Regions from separate parts of the Homo sapiens genome. Here region 1 is linked to region 2. Evidence: promoter capture Hi-C in 16 types of primary human blood cells and fetal thymus (Javierre and others, 2016). All regions are on one chromosome and are shown on one strand. Each heading gives the region's core, a stretch centred on a gene start or on the middle of the fragment in contact. The rest is flanking DNA. Distances are from core to core; before and after follow the strand shown.

Region 1 (5,492 bases), core at 178-2,677, 230 kb before region 2:
GAGATGGGGTTTCACCACGTTGGCCAGGCTGGTCTCAAACTCCTGACCTCAGGTGATCCACCTGCCTCGGCCTCCCAAAGTGCTGGGATTACAGGCGTGAGCCACTGCACCCGGCCTGTTTCATTCTTGATGTTGGTAATATGTGTCCTCCTTTTTGTCAGTCTTGCTAGAGATTTGTCAATTTTATTGACCTTTTCAAAGAACAAATTCTTTGTTTCATTGATTTTCTCTATTGTTTTTCTGTTTTCAATTTTGCTTATATCTACTCTTATCTTTATTATTTCCTTCCTTCCGTTCACTTTGGGTTTAGTTTGCTTATCTTTTCTAGGTTCTTCAGGTGGGAGCTTAGATTATTAGTTTGAAACTTCTCCTCTTTTCTAATGTACACATTTAATGCTATATATTTCCCTCTCAGCATTGCTTTGGCTGTGTCCCACAAATTTTGATGTGCTATATTTTAGTTTTCATTTAGTTCAATAATTTTTTAAATTTTCCTTGAGTCTTCCCTTTTGACTCATTAATTACTTAAAATATGTTGGTTTAGTTTCCAAGTGTTTGGAGATTTTCCTATTATTTTTCTGTTATTCTAGTTTAATTCCATTGTGGTCAGAAAACTCTATATTATTTTAATTCTCTTAAGTTTGTTGCAATGTGTTTTATAGCCCAGAATAGGGTCTATCTTGGTATATGTTCCATGAACATGCAAAAAGAATTTGTATTCTGATGGTTTAGTCTTAGTGTTCTATAAATGTCAATTAAATCCTCTCAGTTGATGTTGAGTTCTTCTATATCCTTGCTGACTTTAGCTATCAATTGTTCTAGCAATTGTTGAGAGAGGGGTGTTGAAGTCTCCAGTTACAACTGTGATTTGTCTGTTTCTCTTTTCAGTTCAATTGGGTTTTGCTTCTCCTATTTTGCAGCTCTGTTGTTTGGTACATGTACATTTAGGATTGCTATGTCTTCTTGGTGAATTGACTATTTTATCATTACATAGTATCCCTCTCTGTCTCTTACTGCTGAATGATTACAAAGGTTCTGACTCCCCACTAGGCATCCTCTGACACCATCCAGTGGTGCCGAGACCAGCTGGGTCAGGGAGACCCTAACCTAGCGGCGCTAGAGGAATTAAAGAAACACACACAGAAATATAGAGGTGTGAAGTGGGAAATCAGGGGTCTCACAGCCTTCAGAGCTGAGAGCCCCGAACAGAGATTTACCCACATATTTCTTAACAGTAAACCAGTCATTAGCATGGTTTCTATAGATATTAAATTAACTAAAAGTATCCCTTATGGGAAATGAAGGGATGGGCCGAATTAATTTCAGCAGGAACACACCTTAAGACACAGATGGCTCATGCTTTTGTTTGTGGCTTAGGAATGCCTTTAAGCGGTTTTCCGCCCTAGGCGGGCCAGGTATTCCTTGCCCTCATTCACGTAAACCCAGAACCTTCCAGCTTGGGCGTTAGGGCCATTATGGACATGCTACAGTGCTGCAGAGATTTTATTTATGGCCAGTTTTGGGACCAGTTTATGGCCAGATTTTGGGGGGCTTGCTCCCAACACAGTGGGAAGGAGGAAGAGTGCCTTATTACTGCTAGATGGGGCTGGAAGTCCAGGCTCTACTTGGTCTCCTATGACATCACTTCATCGTGAGTACTGAGGTGCCTTGACAGTTTCTCAAGGTTGGAAGTATAAGCTGCCAATTTAGCCTTTGTTAGCCTGAGTTGGGATGGGGAGATCACAGATTTTTCTGCTGCATTTGGCTGTTACTGTCTGAAAGTTTTCTGTCTTGCTCTGTTTCTTCTTTCCTACCCCTTTGACTAGAGAGAGCAGACTTTGGTTGGGGCTTTTTTGCCTACACCTATTGGCATTTCTGCATTGCCAGCTTCTTCAGCTCCAAGTCTGGGATATATGACACAAAAAGAAAATACAAGGAACTCAGTAATGTATTATTCCTTGGGTCCCAAGGTCCCTAGCTGGTCTGCCTTCTTCTTGCCTCCATTCAGAGACTTATATTTCTTTTATACTTTGCAAGAGGAATAGAAACAGTATATCTACTATAATTTACTTTTTAATAATGACTATGTTTAACAACCAGTTCACAAGTCCCTGAAATTTTTACAAGCAGCTCTTGTAAGCTAGCTCCAACACATCACTACTGAGTGTCAGAGCCAGAGCTGCCTCCCACCACAGAAGCTGAAATGCCAAAAGCCTCTTTCCCAGCCTTCTAGCAACTTCGACACAGGCACATGACATAAGCCAGTCAGGAACATCCACCTGAGACCTTGTGATGGATGCAGGTATTAGTGATGGATGCAGAGAAGAGGGGCAGTGCAGAATCCTCCTGGTGGCCGTTCCAGGGGTGATATCCCCCACCAGGGGCGCAACTGTGGCATCTCACGTTCCACAGCAACAGCCACATTGCCACCGGATGTTTTCTGTGGCATGTCTGTGACCATGGTTCTGAGTTGGAGTCTCCTACCTTCCCAGTGTCTGTGAATGGCTTTTCAACAGCCCTGTTTCTGCTTAAATTAGCTGGAGCTGGCTTCTGTTTGGTGCAAATAAGAATTTTGACTGATACACATTCCCACTGGCTCTCAGCAGCAAACCCCCTGGGAAACAAAAACCTCAGCCTCTACCACAGAATGTCCTTATTCTTGCTCAGGGGAAATTATCTGAGGAATAATTAACAGCAAACAGAACAGTAGAATGTAACTTAGAAGGGCTTACTGAGAGGGACTGCTAAGACCCCAAAGCCATCACGATTTAACCTGCTTTCTTAGTTGCCAAATACCCTCCTCAGCAATTCTGATCCCCCGCACAGTAAGCGTGTGTTTAATTACAGTCTCCTGTGAGATGAGCAATTTGGCATGGTGCAGAATATACCATCTAGCCTGACCTTGGGAACAAGACAATCCAATGACACTAAAATCTTACTTTCCTTTCTCCCTTTCCCACTTCCGTTCTCTCCCCCTGCACTGCTGAAGACTCACTGGTTAGGAAAATATTTTATGTCTTATGTCCTTGAGGGTGGCTTTTGCGCACTGAAAAGACCACTCTGAGATTTACTGGGGTTTTGAAAATCAGTATTCAATTTATTAAATTTATAGATTTAGAAATTTATAGCTCTTCCTTAACGCTTTTAAAATCACCTTAGGAATCTTATTGTCCTATTTATAAGTCTAGCAAATATTAACAATCACTTTGAGAGGGTTTTGATTAATGCTTAGCCCCATTTACACACTTAGTTAATTAAAAGTCTTTAACATTTTAAATGGCACTTAATAAATTTAATAAATTCAATTCCTTTTTAAGTATTTCATCTGACTGATAAAACTTCCCAAGTACAAAAGTAATTCTTACAGATTTAATAAATTCAGCATACAAGACAGAGTGAACCTTAAATTCTCTTCAATGTCCAAACTATATGTAAACTTGGAAATATTTCAACTTATCACAAATTTCAATCAATTATTCAAGTACATACATTAAAATGAAATATTGAAGGTGGTCTAATATTCCAGTAGGCCGAATTCTCTAAAATTATGCCTACACAAATATTATATATGCACAAATTCTTTAACTTGAAAACATGAAAACTATAGTTTTGATTCCCCTAAACATTTGTGTGCTTAATTTTAAATTTTCCCAGGGCTAAAAAAATTAAACGAGATGAAAATAAATTTTCCCAGGGCTAGTAAAATGTCTATCCACAAGAGAGGTATTCCCTTCTCAGCCACCTGAGGTTGCTAATCAACCAGAGATTCTGGGTGGGATGCCGACTGCATCTTAGCTGCTGACTCTATGGACCTGTAGAGCCCTATTTCCAGTTTTTAACTTTCTAACTTAAAGATGGAGGTGGCTGAGTAGACTAGTCCCTTGATTACAAGTGATCAGTTACTAAAGGTCAAGCCAGAGTGTAGTCCATAACTCCCTATCCAGGTTCTATACCTGATTGTGTATTTATGTGACCATTAAGGCTTATAACTACATATTTGTCCATCTATCTCTACAGAATCCTGCATCCTTTTCATGTGCTTCTTATCTCATAGGACCACACACCTCTTATAGATGTTTAAACGTCACCTAATTGAATTCTAGTGACGTCACAGCTTTGTCCAATATCCTGAGATCATTCTCCAAGTCACTGCTCACCCCCACCCCCTCACCCTACCCATCCCACCCTCTGTGGTCTCTGAGTTTCTGACTCCCCTAGGAATGCAAAAATGGACTCCCCCAGGATCTACACACCTTTTGACGTGGCGAAACTAAAGAAGAAAGTTCCTAAGCCTAGTAACTCTGCTGAGAGATTATTTGGGGATTCCTATAGCACTACAGCCACTGCTTCCCCCCTCCTGAACCCCCTGCTTCCTGAGCAAAACCACTGCAGTGATCAGGGTCTGTTGAAAGAATATGGTCTATGAAGGAGGTGCTGGAGCCAAATTCCTAATCTCTCAGAAAGATGAGGCCACTTAACCAAAGTCCAGCTAGTGCCTGAGGTGAGGCCAAAGCCGAGGATTCCTGACTGCCAGTCCCCATGTTCTGGCCACTCAACTGTAATGCCATCAACAACAGCAAAGCCAGCAGAGCAAGAGAGGTGCTCACAGATCACAGTCCCAACCAAGCAGCCTAAACATTAGAACGTGCTACGTTCAGCCCTTTCTTTTTTTTTTTTTTTAACTTTAAGTTTCAGAATACATGTGCAGAACATGCAGGTTTGTTATATAGGTATACGTGTGTCATGGTAGTCTGCTGCACCTATCAACCCATCACCTAATGCATTAGCTATTTGTCCTGATGCTCTCCCTCCCCTCACCCACCACCAACCCAACAGGCCCTGATGTGTATTGTTCCCCTTCCTAAGTCCATGCGTTTATGTGCAGCCCTTTCTGTTGCTTGATAAACAGAATAGAAATAGGCATGGGTCCTGCCCTCAAGCTTACTTTCTAAAATAAATATGCATACTGTGTATTTGCATTTTCATACCAAGGAGAAGCAATAATAAGAAATAACTTTCAACCACAGTGGAAATTGTAGTGGAAATCAACCATAGGAAAGAATATATTGGTTTAGGACAATGGTTCTTAAACCTGACTCCATATTAGAATCTCTGGGGTTTTGAGGGGATGTCGGGGGAGGGGAATGTTTAATAAAATACCAGTGTGAGCCTGACATGGTGGCTCACACCTGTAATCCCTGCACTTTGGGAGGCCAAGGCTGGAGAATCAGTTGAGCTCAGTTCAAGACCAGCCTGGACAACATAGTGAGACCCTATTTCTACAAAAAATAAAAATTAATTAATGTAATTTAATGCCAGTGTGAACCTGTAGAGATGAGGCTCAGACACTGATATGTTTTGAAACACTCCAGGTGATTCCAGCGCTTAACCAGAGCTAAGATCCTCCGACTTGAAGCAATGATTTCTGACATTTTAGTCCTTTCCCTGGCATTGTCACAATTTCTTGCTGTGTATGCTGTATTAGTCCATTC
Region 2 (5,487 bases), core at 304-2,803:
GAGGGCACAGGAAGTGGCCCAATCTCTGCCCAGGAGCCACACCCTTGAAGTCTATGTCCCCACCAGACTGTGTGACCTCCCTGGGGTTAGAAACTGTGTCTATTTTATCCACCTCTGTGTTTCTGGTTCCCAGCTCCAGCCTGGCCAATATAGCTGCTCAATTAATATTTATGACTTTGGTGGCAGGAGGGTGACTGTGCTCACTTGGCCTGTCAGAAGTGGGACCAACAAATATGCTACACTTGCTGCCCTTTTCGTTCTTGGAGCCTGGTGAAGTCTACAGTCAGGTCCTCCCAAGCTCTCTGAGAGCTGTGACCCCCACCTACTCCCTTTTTCTCCAGCCTGTCCATTCACCTTGTAAAAAGACACAGTCTCGGCAAGGCCCCAGGGCCAAGCTCCCCCCTCCCCCCACCTCCCCCAGGGCCTCATCACAGCTGAGCTGAGAGCTGTTGCTTGGACTCTGGGCCCTTGCCCTGCTTTCCCTGTCTCCTATCAGCCTCCCTTCTCCCTCTGGCTACACTGCCCTCTGGGCCTCCTGCAGCCCTTCCTCTGCCCATCAACTACCTGACCCCATAAATATCGCCCCAGCATCTTAAAATGCTTTTTAACGGGGCTGTCCACAGGGCACCGGGTCCCCTAAATTCTCCCATATCCACCCCCTGATCTATGTCCCCAAGAAAACTCCTGTGCAAGATGGGATCGCAGGGGGAGAGACCTGGAGGTCACGGCCCCTTGAAACACACAGGTGGAGGACCCTTTCTCCACATGGGGCAGGAGAGGGTCCCGGGCCCCGGGAGAAGGCAGGTGCTGACAGCGGGACCCCAGACCCCAGGCCTAGCCTCCTGTGCCCTGCCCGCAGAAAGAGGAGTCTGGGGTGCCGGGCCCTCACTTGGCCTTGAGCCGCTGCAGGTCGTCGAGCAGGTTGTCGCGCTCGACGTCGACGCGCGCGCGCTGGTTAGTGAGCACCTCCACCTGGCGCCGCAGCTCCCGCAGCTCCTCCTCGTAGAGCTCGGCCACTCGCGTCGGCTCGCGGCCCTTGAGCCGGTTCACTTCGGCGGCGAGCGCCGCGTTCTGCTGCTCCAGGAAGCGCACCTTCTCGATGTAGTTGGCGAAGCGGTCATTGAGCTCCTGCAGCTCCACCTTCTCGTTGGTGCGCGTGGTCAGAAACTCCTGGTTCACCGCGTCGGCCAGTGAGAAGTCCAGCAGCTCGCCTGCGCCGTAGGAGGAGGGCGTGCGGGTGGTCCCCAGCCGGCTGGCCCGCAGCGACCCCAGGCCCCCGGCCCCGCCCGACGTGCGCGACACCTGGTACACGCGGGACGTCACCGAGCTGGAGGAGCCCTTAGAGCCGAAACCCGCCCGCGGGAACACGGGCGAACTCAGCGGGGAGCCGAGTGGGAAGCCCGGGGCCCCGCCGAAGGTGCGGCGGTAGGAGGACACGCGCTGGCTGGACGAGTAGGCCTGGCTCATGGTGACGGCGCGGGCGAGGCTGGCGGGCGCACGGAGGAGGCGGCGGGCAGGCGGCCGGCCGGAGAGTGGATGCGGCGAGGGGAGACAGGGCCCCCAGCCGTCGGCACTATTTGTATCCCTCCTGACATCAGCCCCCGCCTCCCCTCCCCTGACAGCTGCAAGATCCCGCTGTCCTGCCAGGAAAGGGCGGCCCGTGGCCGTGGGGGCGGGGAGGCCAGCTCCCCCGCAAGAGGCCTGCGCCCCTGAGTCAGCCAGCGGGGGTCCTGTGACGGGCAAGCCTGCCAATCCTTCGCCAGGGCAGGCAGCAAGCATGTCTGCAGCCCCCAGGCGGGCCTCTTTCAGCCCTGGTTATCTCCTCGTCCTGGGGTGGGGGGGAGTGGGGTCAGGGGAGACAGCAGAAGAGAGGCTTCCCTTTAGTTTGAGGGTCCCCTTTTTGGTCAAGGAGAGACTTTGGGTCATTTCTTAAAGGGTCAAGGCCTGTTCCCAGGAAAGGCCCTAAACCACCTTGTTCCTAAATATTCTCTTGAAGTCGAAGAGGTTTGGGTCTCAGGCAAAGACCAGCCAGGCTTGAGGGTGGGGGTCTCTAGGCAGGAAGGGAGGGCAGGGAGACGCCTGGCAGGCGGAGGGATCCTGGCCAAAGCCTGCCTGCCATGTATGTCTATGGGCGAGCTAGCCCTGAGCCTCAGTTTCCCTCTGGACTAGTGCAGGCCCTCTTCCTCCCCGGTACTGTCGAGGGTGGGGCCTCAAGTTTATAAACAGTGGGCTGATTTCCAGAAAGGGTCTGATAAGCTTTCAGTTTCCAATTGCTATGTGCGCTCCCACCCCCGCACAGACTTTGTGTGGCTCCTGCCCCCTGGGTCCCCCGCCCCCTCCCTGATTCATCCCCCTACTCACACCACCCACGCCCACACACACCAGGGGTTTGTGTTTTGTCAGGAGCCGCATGTCAACCCAACCATCTCCCTGGCAGCAACAGCTGCCAACCCCAAATACCAGAGCGGGTATTTATAGAGGAGAACGCATGGCTGGGAAACAAGGCACAGGAGAGGAGCTGTGGGGGGCAGGGGGTACCTGAGGAGGCATGGGTGGGCGTCAGATAAGGAAGGCTAGGGTGACAGCCCCAATCACTTCCCACCCCCTATAATGCTCCAGCCCCCACCCCCACAAAAATGGAGCCCCACAGAGGGCCTGCCCAACCTCCAAAGCCCCCTCCTTAGCACACGGCACTTGCTAACCCCTAAGGACATCCACCATTCTCCATGGGTACTGGCCGTGCCTCTACACCTCCACTTGGCACTCCAGGTCCCTCTTGGACCTGACCCTTTTGGAATGCAAACCCTGAAAATAGAGTGCTCGATTAGGAGCCAGTCACTGGTCCTACCCTAGACCTGCCATCACCAGCTGGAGGGGTTACTAGTAGGTGTGTCCTTGTCTGAGCCCCAGCTCAGGCACGTCCTCTCTGAGCCCCAGCTTGTCAGATATAAAGTGAGGATGGTTAGCCTTGCCATGCTACCCTATAAAGGTTTAAAGAGGCCCAGGCCCTACTAATGTATGTAGCAACAATAATACCTTACATGTACTGACCACCTAGTGTGGGCCAAGCTGCTGAGCACTTCACACCCATGACCCCCAATTCTCCAACCCTAGGAGGTAGACACTAGCATCATTCCCATTTTATAGCTCAGGAAGCTGAGACAGTGAGACCTCACAGCCTGTGGCTTTGGCCTCAGGATGGGTGTGAATGTGCCGGGTAAATTGTAAAGGGGGCTTTGTTACTGCACTCTTTTCAAAGCCCTTTCCCATTAAGTGTCTAATTTTCATCCAAGAGACAAGCTTCTGAAATAGATGGGGGAGTTCCAGATATTCTTATCCAGCCCTCGAGTCAGTGCAAGCTGTTGTGTTCTGGTTATTTTTGTGTCTCATCTCCCAGACTAGACTGTATGCTCCTGGAGGATTTTGGAGACCATGTGGATCCTTAACACACTCAGGCAGCACCGTCTTTCTCATTGTCATTCAAAGTAGCCTGCAAGCTTTCTTTTGCAATTTCCTTATTTTGATGACATGCTGTGCCTCCTCCCCATCCCTCCACCCCTAAAGACCCTGATTCCAGCCAGTCTTATTACTGCATCTCCCTGACTTCAGTGACTGGGTCAAGGAATGGGCCTGGGAATGAGCAGGGCCAATCAGAGACCTTCCCTGGAATTTATAGACGGAACTGGGATTCTTCAACTGGAACCTGTGGAAGCCATGTTTCCTGCCCCCTGGGGGAGTAGGAAGAAAGAGAGGTCAATATGTAAGAAGCAGAGGAGGCTGGAGAGGAGGAGCAGGCCAGCCCCTTGGTTCCTGCAGTGCTTCCCTCAACTTTGTGAGTTGAGCTCCCACACTGTCCTTCCTGGCCTTGGGCCAACAAACTTTCCGTTTTTTTTTTTTTTTTTTTTTTTAATTTAAGGCACTTGGTATTGCTTTGATCACTTACAGCCCAAAGAACCAGATTAATCTTCCTGAAGGGGACTCTACACCTATTTCTATGATGCTACTGGGACAACATTTCTGGAGCTCTTCTCTGTGAATGATCTCCAGACCACATAAGGAAATTGGCCTTTGGACCAGCCCAAGTCCTCAGTTCCTTGGTGAAAAGAGGCAGAAGACAAATAAATCATGCCATCTATTCTCTAGTCAAAATCAACAACCACCAGACTTGGCCCCGAACCACTTGGGACTGTTTTCAAAATTCAGTTCCACCCCTGAGGATTTGCTACCATGGAGGGCTGCAAATCAACACCCCGAGGCTTGGAAGGCAGGTGAAAGAGGAGCACTCCAAAACATGCTGTGAGCTGGGCAGCACCGCTGGAGGGAGAGTTCAGCCTCCCGAGAGGACCACTCAGGATGGGACACACTAAAAATACCGACAATTTATTTGGATGGGTAGTGTATATGGTACAAAATTCAAGATGTGCAAAAAGGCATAAAATGAAAAGTAAGTCTCCTTCCCACTTTGACACCCAGCCACCCCAAACACTGCTTCAGAGACAACCAGGTTTTGGTTGTTATCGGTTCCTTTCAGAGATACTTCATGTACACACAACCACATTTTCTTATGTGGAGCCCCCACTTCTGAATCAATCTTTTTTCAATGACATACAGCTTAGAGATGGTTCCATTTTAGTACATTGACAGCTGAGTCACTTTTACATTGTGATAAAATATACATAAAATAAAATTCACCATTTGAGCCATTTTTTAAGTATACAGTTCAGTGGCGTCAAGTACATTCACATTGTTGTACAACTATCCCCACCATCCATCTGCAGAACTTTTTCATTGTCCCAAGCTGAAACTCCATATGTATTAAAAATAACCCTCCACCTTCCCCTCCTCCCAGCCCCTGGTAAACATCATTCTACTTTCCGTTTCTACGAATTTGACTCTAGGTACTTCATGCAAGTGGAATCATACCATATTTGTCCTTTTGTGACTGGCTTACTTCCCTTAGCATAACGTCTTCAAGGTTCATCCATGTTGTGACATGGGTCAGAATTTCCTTTCTTTTTAAGGCTAAATAATATTCCATTGTATGTATACACCACACTTTGTTTATCTGTTGATGAATATTTGGGTTGTTTCCAACTTTTGGTTATTGTGAATAATGTCGCTATGAACTTTGGTGTACAAATATCTGTTCAAATACTTATGTTCAGTTCTTTTCTGTAGATACTCAGAAGTGGAACTGCTATGTTATATGGTAATGCTATGTCTAAATTTTTGAGGAACTGCCATGCTGTTTTCCGCAGCAGCTGCACTGTTTTACATTGCTACCAGCAGTGAACATGGGTTCCAATTTCTCCACATCCTGGCTAACACTTGCTATTTTCTATTTGTTTATTTGTTTTATAATATTAATAGTAGCCTTCCTAATGGATGTGAGGTGGTACCTCATTGTGGTTTGTTTGTTTTGTTTTGTTTTTTAGAGACAGGGCCTCTGTCACGCAGGCTGGAGTGCAATGGCACGATCATCACTCA

What was found. The method cuts DNA at HindIII sites, captures the fragments that hold promoters and counts their contacts. A CHiCAGO score of 5 or more calls a contact.
Region 1: a fragment that was not itself captured here is called in contact with the fragment with the promoter of DES in region 2 in 1 of 17 cell types (M0 macrophages); the score reaches 5.3 in M0 macrophages.

What each region holds. Positions count from the first base shown.
Region 1 is chr2:219,647,772-219,653,263 of GRCh38, reverse strand. No RefSeq gene overlaps it. Among named protein-coding and RNA genes, the nearest start is that of SLC4A3, 23 kb to the right of the region's middle. The HindIII fragment of the contact is 7,031 bases long and covers 1-4,942 here.
Region 2 is chr2:219,414,443-219,419,929 of GRCh38, reverse strand. DES (desmin) reads right to left here and starts at 1,553. Exons shown (of 9, transcript NM_001927.4): 1 at 890-1,553. The coding sequence starts at 1,467. RefSeq lists a promoter at 1,478-1,782, a silencer at 1,783-2,258, enhancers at 2,259-2,415, 2,416-2,534, 2,259-2,534 and cis regulatory regions at 2,455-2,461, 1,478-2,534. The HindIII fragment of the contact is 3,605 bases long and covers 1-2,258 here.